Linked DNA regions of Homo sapiens: region 2 is linked to region 1. The links are contacts of gene promoters, found by promoter capture Hi-C in human tissues and cell types (Jung and others, 2019). All regions are on one chromosome and are shown on one strand. Each heading gives the region's core, a stretch centred on a gene start or on the middle of the fragment in contact. The rest is flanking DNA. Distances are from core to core; before and after follow the strand shown. Region 1 holds the start of FAT4 (FAT atypical cadherin 4). Region 2 overlaps LOC102724210 (a long non-coding RNA gene).

Region 1 (3,307 bases), core at 591-3,090:
TGGCTAAATTATACCAAAAATAATGGTGTTAGGATTGTAACTTAAGAAAAATACGATTTTTGAAAAACAGGCTTAAATGTCTCTAAAAAGTCTAGAGTCTAATGTTTTCAAGTTTTAAAATACATAAATGGTTAAATTTAACTTTTTTGTCTGTTTCCAGTTAACTCATTACATTACAGTAGAGGAATATGTAGAAGTTAGCTTTTTAACCTAAACAGAGGAATTGGTGATAGCTTTAGAAATCATGTTTCCATAAATCAGTTTTGAGTTACAGGCTGCCTGCATCATCAAGACTTGAATTTGCTGTCTGTCCTACTATTCTTGATTTTTTTTTTTTTACTCTAAATAAGAAAGGCACTAGGAAAGTCTTAGAGATCGTTTTCTTTGCTGCTATCCCTAGGCAAGAAGCAGGAATTAGCCTTGTAATCCGATCCTTTTAGTCTCTGCATTTAATTTTAAGCAAGAAACCAGGAGACTAAAGATGTAAGACTGACGTAGAACAGCAGAGGGCAGTATTTACTCATGACTGAACCCTCTCTGGGCGCAGAAAGTTTTACGTTTGTGAGGGATCCTTGTGGCAGAAATGTATGACATATGCCCTGTATTTGCATTGTTTGGCTTGAATTCTTATTTTCTAGGTTGGTTCCCTTAAAGGGGAAAAATATCGATCTGATTCCTAGTAACGTTTTTCTTCTTTTAAAGAAACGATGCATGCCACCACAAAAATTAACTGCAGTGAATAGTGGGTGAGTTGATCTGAGTGCATTAAGTGGCATGTGGGTATTTTTAAAAACTTAAGCTTAAATATTATTTTATTTATTTCTACTTTCTCGTATCTATTTCTCCCAGACTGAAAAGCAAAATAAAACTTTATTAGGTTTCCTTTGACTAAAAAATGTGGAGGTGGAAATACTCCATCAGGGATCAAAATTCCAAACTAACTTTGCAACAGGAAAAGATCTCCCTCTTTTCAAAGGGCTGCCATTATTATTGTTGTTGAAACCCTAAGGTTTGGGCTACTGGCACCTGGAATCCAGTTGGGAAAGAAAACAAAACAAACACTGAGTTCCCCTGGCCTTTCCTATAGTAGGAAGTCCAAAGTGCCCTTGCTACGGAGGCCTCCTGCCCCCTAGTCACCTGGAAGGTGGGGGAGAGGGGCAAGTGAGTGAAGATTTAGAGTTTAGCTCGCCCTAGACAGCAGGGAGCCCACTGTGTAGAAAGAGGAGCAAAGGGGAGGATTTGATTTGGATTCTGTGGGATCACACTGTATGGCAGCTCTATCCCTTGCATAAAGAGAGAAGGGGCAGGAAATGGTTAAAGCAAATCTGCACTGTGCATTCCCAGACAGGCTTTGCTTAATCCTTCCTCCCCGCTTTAACAGACCCTCACCCCCCGCCTTTCTTTTATTTCTCTCGACCCCCTTACCCCTGAGTTATTACTAGCATAACAACCTAACGGTCTTCCCCCAGACCCTGCCACTAAAGTTATTTATCTGCAAACCTGACCCCACCCCCATCTATTCTGCGGCAGCCTTTTGCTGTTATTGCTCTGACGCCGGCCAAGATTTGGCCGAAAAGGAAAAAAAAAAAAAAAAAAGAAAAGAAAAAAAATCACCCCCCTTTTTAGCGCCTCCGCCTCGCTGTGCTCCCACACCAGACCGCCTACAGCCCTCCGGGAGGCTGAAGTGATTAGCATCCCGAGAAGCCAGTCGGAGGCCGGGCAAGGCGGAGGGCGCTCGCGGTAGGAGTGCCGGTCGGGGCTGCTTCAGCTCCGGCCCAATGGGGCTGGGGCGAGGGAGGGGCAGAAGGTGACAGGACTGGGAGCTAGGGGGAGTCCAGGCGAACTAAAGTGCGGGGATCAATGAGTGTCGAGCAAAGTTTCTGAGTGCTGCTCCAGCTCGCGGTCTTCCCTCCCCCTCTGTTTGTGTTTCGGCGACGCGCTGTGTGTGTGTGTGTGCGTGTGTATGTGTGTGTGTGTGCATGCCTGTGCGGCGGGGAAGGGGCGGGGAGAGTGTGAGGGACCAGGCGGGAGGTGGAGAAGGGCTCGCGGAGCCCTAGCTCCACCGCAGTCCAACCTTCGGCCCCGGCCGGCGAGAGGGAGAGCGCTGACAGGCGCCGTCCGGAGCTGCGGAGGGCGTCACTACAGCCCAGCGCCGACTTCGCCGCCTCCGCTGCCAACTGTGAAGGAGAGAGAGGCATCAACCACCCCCCGCCCCAAACAAAAAGCCTTGTGGATTACAAAGTGAAACTGACACGGGACAATAAAAGCAGAGATAGCGAGGGCAGGGGCGAGGCGCGCTAGAGTGGGCTTCTGACTGGGGCCGCCGGAGAACGACCCCCCCTGGCATGGTGAGGGGAGGGCGACTCGGGGACCGCACGCTGTTTCTGCCCGACCCCTGCGAGGCCGAGAAGAAAGGGGAAACTGCGTTCGATTTGGATGTACAAATAATGGGTCGGCAGGCGCCCCGGCAGAGGTGAAAAATGCCGAGGAGCCCTGGCTGTTGTTTGTGCCGGACCACGGGCTTGAAGCCGCAACAGGGGCGGCGGCGGCGGCGGCTGCAGGAGGGGAAGGGGCAGAGTTGAGCGCTCCCGGGTACGGGAGCCAGAGCGCGAACGCTAGCGCTTGGAACGCAGTTCCCGAACTGCCTGCGCGCAGACGCCGCCGCCTGGGCCTCAGCGGCCACTGCCGGCGCCCTGTTGGAGGGGCGTTGCAGCCTGGTTTTTGAGGAGTGGGGACTCCAGGAATTCCATCGCCTCCAGCTTTTGGGAAAGAAATTCGATTCTCCCGGTTCCCCACCACCCCTTCCCCGGTGCGCAGTTGTGCTTGGACGTTTGTTCCTCCCTCTTCACGTTCTTCGCTGCGGGTAAGTTCTAAAGTTTCTGAAGACCGTTCTTTGCAATGATTCCTCATATACCTTAGATACAGGCAACTTCTCCCAACTCTCATCCACCCGGGTGAAAACGCTCAGACTATCTGGATTCAAAAACAAAGTAAAAGGGGGCATATATAAGAGGCTTGAGAAACTTTTCTGGGAACTCAGCTCACAGGAGTGTCCCGCGGAATGCCCTGCCGCTTTTCGCCACAGCATCTCTCTTGCACTCCGCGTTCAACTGGCTACCTAGAGTCTTTTGCTGATGCTACTTGCTTTTGCCGGACTGGAGGTTCTTTGAAATAGCAGAGGTCTCAGACCAAGCCGTCAGCTGAATCTTTGCTGGCGCTCCTTAATCCCTGTAAATATCATTGCGTTTGCTTCACCCCTTCCTTCTCTTTATCACATCGTTTTAGGGAGCCAGGACCATGGACTTAG
Region 2 (3,147 bases), core at 152-2,651, 1.8 Mb after region 1:
TATTTCTAGTTCATACATCCTCCTAGACCTTTACCATCTAGATCTAGCAGTAAATTTCAGGTCTTCAAAAATAAACCTTAGTCCAGTTGATCGGTGAGATGATAATACTAAAATAGGTTTAATCAACAGTATCTCAGGCAGTCCTTTCTGCCTAATAGTGAAAAGAGGAGAATTTTTAATTATGTAATAACTAAACCAACATTCTCATTCAAACAAAAAAAAATCTTTTTAATTCAACAGGGACAAAAGAAGGGGAAAAAATCCAACATGCAGCTTTTATGATTGACTTCTCACAATTTCTCTGCTATTAACAATTTCCCTTTATAGATGGTCTTCATTACCCTAGAAATAAAGGGTAGCAGCAGAAAACACAAAGCTTTATTTTGAGGGTAGCCCAAAACCCATTAGTTTAAAAGTGTTAACGTTTTATGGTTTCAAGGAACAGTATAAATTGCAGTTGTTTGTGTAAGTTCATTTTTCAAATGTGTGAACACAAATGTCTATTGTCTATGAGGAAAGTTCATGCTGAGCTACAAGTGAATTGTACAATTGAGCTCCCAGCTAAGCAGCCGCCTCTGCCAAGCTAGCCATTTTCATAAGTGGTCCTAAATTTGATACAGGGGCAAATAATTTTTTATTGTTTTCCCAGAGGGAGAAGGCTCTTTTTACAGACCACAGACCAGTAACGCTTTATATGTATATTCTTGCTGACATTGCATTTTTTCTTTTTTTAAAATATAAAAGAATCTGAGTCTGTAATTTTTACCTTCCTTTTGTTAAAACTGTGCAAAAGGCCTACTAACCTCTACCTTAAAGCCCTGACTTTATTCTTTGCTGCAGATATCATTAAAATCTTTCTCTACTTTCTGCTCAGCAATTTCTTTCTTATAAAGAAGCATGGTCATTCATTGTATTCCCAGAGAACTCCACAGAGAGATCAGCTCACCCAACTTCAGCCTATGTCTTGAAATTAGTGAGGAGTTTATCTTCTGTCTTCTTAGTCACTTGGTGTCTTTTCAAACCATTTTAGATACAAATAACCTCAGAAAATCTATTCAAATTGGTAAATAAATCTTTTGAGCATATCCTTCATTAATAGTTTAGCATAAGCAATCTTTGTGATGTAACTGTTTTGTATCTTAACTTTGGTTGTGGTCACACAAATCTGCACTTATAAGAAAACTGAATAAAACTAAATACTAAACACACACACACACACACACACACACAAATAAGTCCATGTAAACTGATGATTATAAATAAGGCTGATGGATTGCCACATATTCATTACCGATGGATTCACCCAGTACGCTGGGTGTGGTATTATAGTTATGCAAGATGTTACCACTGGGGAAAACTGAGTGAAAGGTATATGAATCTTTCTGTGTTAATTCTTACAACCGCATGCAAATCTAAAATTATCTAAAAATAAAACATTTATAAAAATCGTTAGCAAATCACACATTTTGGGGTGTTTTTAATTTTACCACCTAAAGAAAGTTATCCCTGAAATATCTAGAAGACAATGAAAACGTGTAATATAGTGAACAACAGTGACCTTTGTGCTGCCCCTTCCTCATCCATGATTATGAATTGCCACTGCCTGCAAGGGGAGCCCGACCCCCTCAGCAAAGCCAGTATATGTCATTTTTAATTTTCTGACTTAGAAGTGGTAACCTGGTTTCGATTATGTGCTTGAGTGTGGCTGCAACAGGATCTCCAGTTGGCTTCTGAGTTTTCCAAGGTAGACTCACCGGTCATTTTTATTTCAGTTGTATATTCAGACATGCCAGATCACAGCCATGAAGGAAGGAGAGCCTACATTAATGTCATTGACTCTGCCTCTCACAAATGCAGTCACAGAAAACTATCCTTAGGGGTGGATGTCTTCATAAGGTATCAAAAGAGAAATTTCCTTTTACGTTTCCTCTTGCCTTTTTCTAAAACTAATTATTGTGGCCTGCAACATATGAATAGGGAAAATAGATGAATTGTACTACAGAAATGAAGTTGTCATCTAAACTTTCTGGCATTACAGTTAGATTCCAATTTAATACTGTGAAATGAAATTGCTTTAAAAATTCAATATCCTAGTCAATTGCTATCCTGTCTCTAAAGTCTCTAAAGTTCTGTAAATTAATAGATACAACCCATTGCATCTTCAAACCTGAAAAATATGCAAGCTTAGTTTCATTAAAAATAATCCCCCCTACCACACATCTCGACACCTTTCAAAAGGAGGGTTGTGAAGGTTTAGATTCAAACTTCTAAACTGAGTTAATAAGACTTACTCAATCAGAATTGTCTAGGACTTCAAAAAAATTGCAGGCTGTATCTAAATTTTAAAATCGTGCATGCCAGAAAACATCAAAGAGCTACAAATTCAAACAAAATAGCCAGCACTTGCAGCTGCAAGAGAGCTAGCAATTTATTCAAGTACGGTTCATAGATAATGTGACCCAAACAGACACCTATGCAGAGGACCAACTCTAATATGGGAAAAAAGAAAAATGAGGCTAGAATATAGCTATTTGTTTTCTGCAGTGGAGTCTACTTTCAAAGACTTACTATTTTTCTTCAATTGTTCAAAGTAGCCCTTGTGACTCCAGAAATAATGATAAAGAATAGTATTTTGAGTCCCCAGAAGCTCATGAATCATTGGCTCTGCCTTCTCCATTGATAACCTACAAGTAACAAGTTTCTTACCCACCCACCCTGAAGTTACATGTAAGAATAAAAACTGCAGCAATGCTTGAAGCATTATAAATGTCTAAGATAAAAAAGTATCAGTCTAGTAACATTTTTATAATGTTAACTAACTGGAGGGAAAATTTACATAAATTACTGGAAATCTAATATGCAATCTACTTTAAAATAAATTCAGTATTAATACTTTTATTCATATAAAACTTACATTTACATTTTAGCTTACATGTATATGTGCATGTACACATATGTTCCAGGAAAACATATAATATGGGCAGTGTGAAAAATCCTTAGCCAATTCCTAGCAACTTTTTTGCAATCATTCTACATTACTGAGGCATTGTATCAAATGCCTGATTCAACACTGAAGGATATGGGTAAACTAAAAGCATAATCTGTCTTAATAACTGCTTCAAAGTGACTTTACATTACCATAACTTT

What was found. Contacts are between HindIII fragments. The study calls those that stand out against the background at their distance.
Region 2: a fragment that was not itself captured here is called in contact with the fragment with the promoter of FAT4 in region 1 in 1 of the 25 tissues and cell types used here (dorsolateral prefrontal cortex).

What each region holds. Positions count from the first base shown.
Region 1 is chr4:125,313,115-125,316,421 of GRCh38, forward strand. It overlaps FAT4 (FAT atypical cadherin 4), which reads left to right and starts at 1,841. Exons shown (of 18, transcript NM_001291303.3): 1 at 1,841-2,863; 2 at 3,286-3,307. The coding sequence starts at 3,298. The HindIII fragment of the contact is 10,793 bases long and covers 1-3,307 here.
Region 2 is chr4:127,131,018-127,134,164 of GRCh38, forward strand. The region is part of intron 5 of LOC102724210 (a long non-coding RNA gene); the gene reads right to left. Among named protein-coding and RNA genes, the nearest start is that of INTU, 500 kb to the right of the region's middle. The HindIII fragment of the contact is 3,903 bases long and covers 1-3,147 here.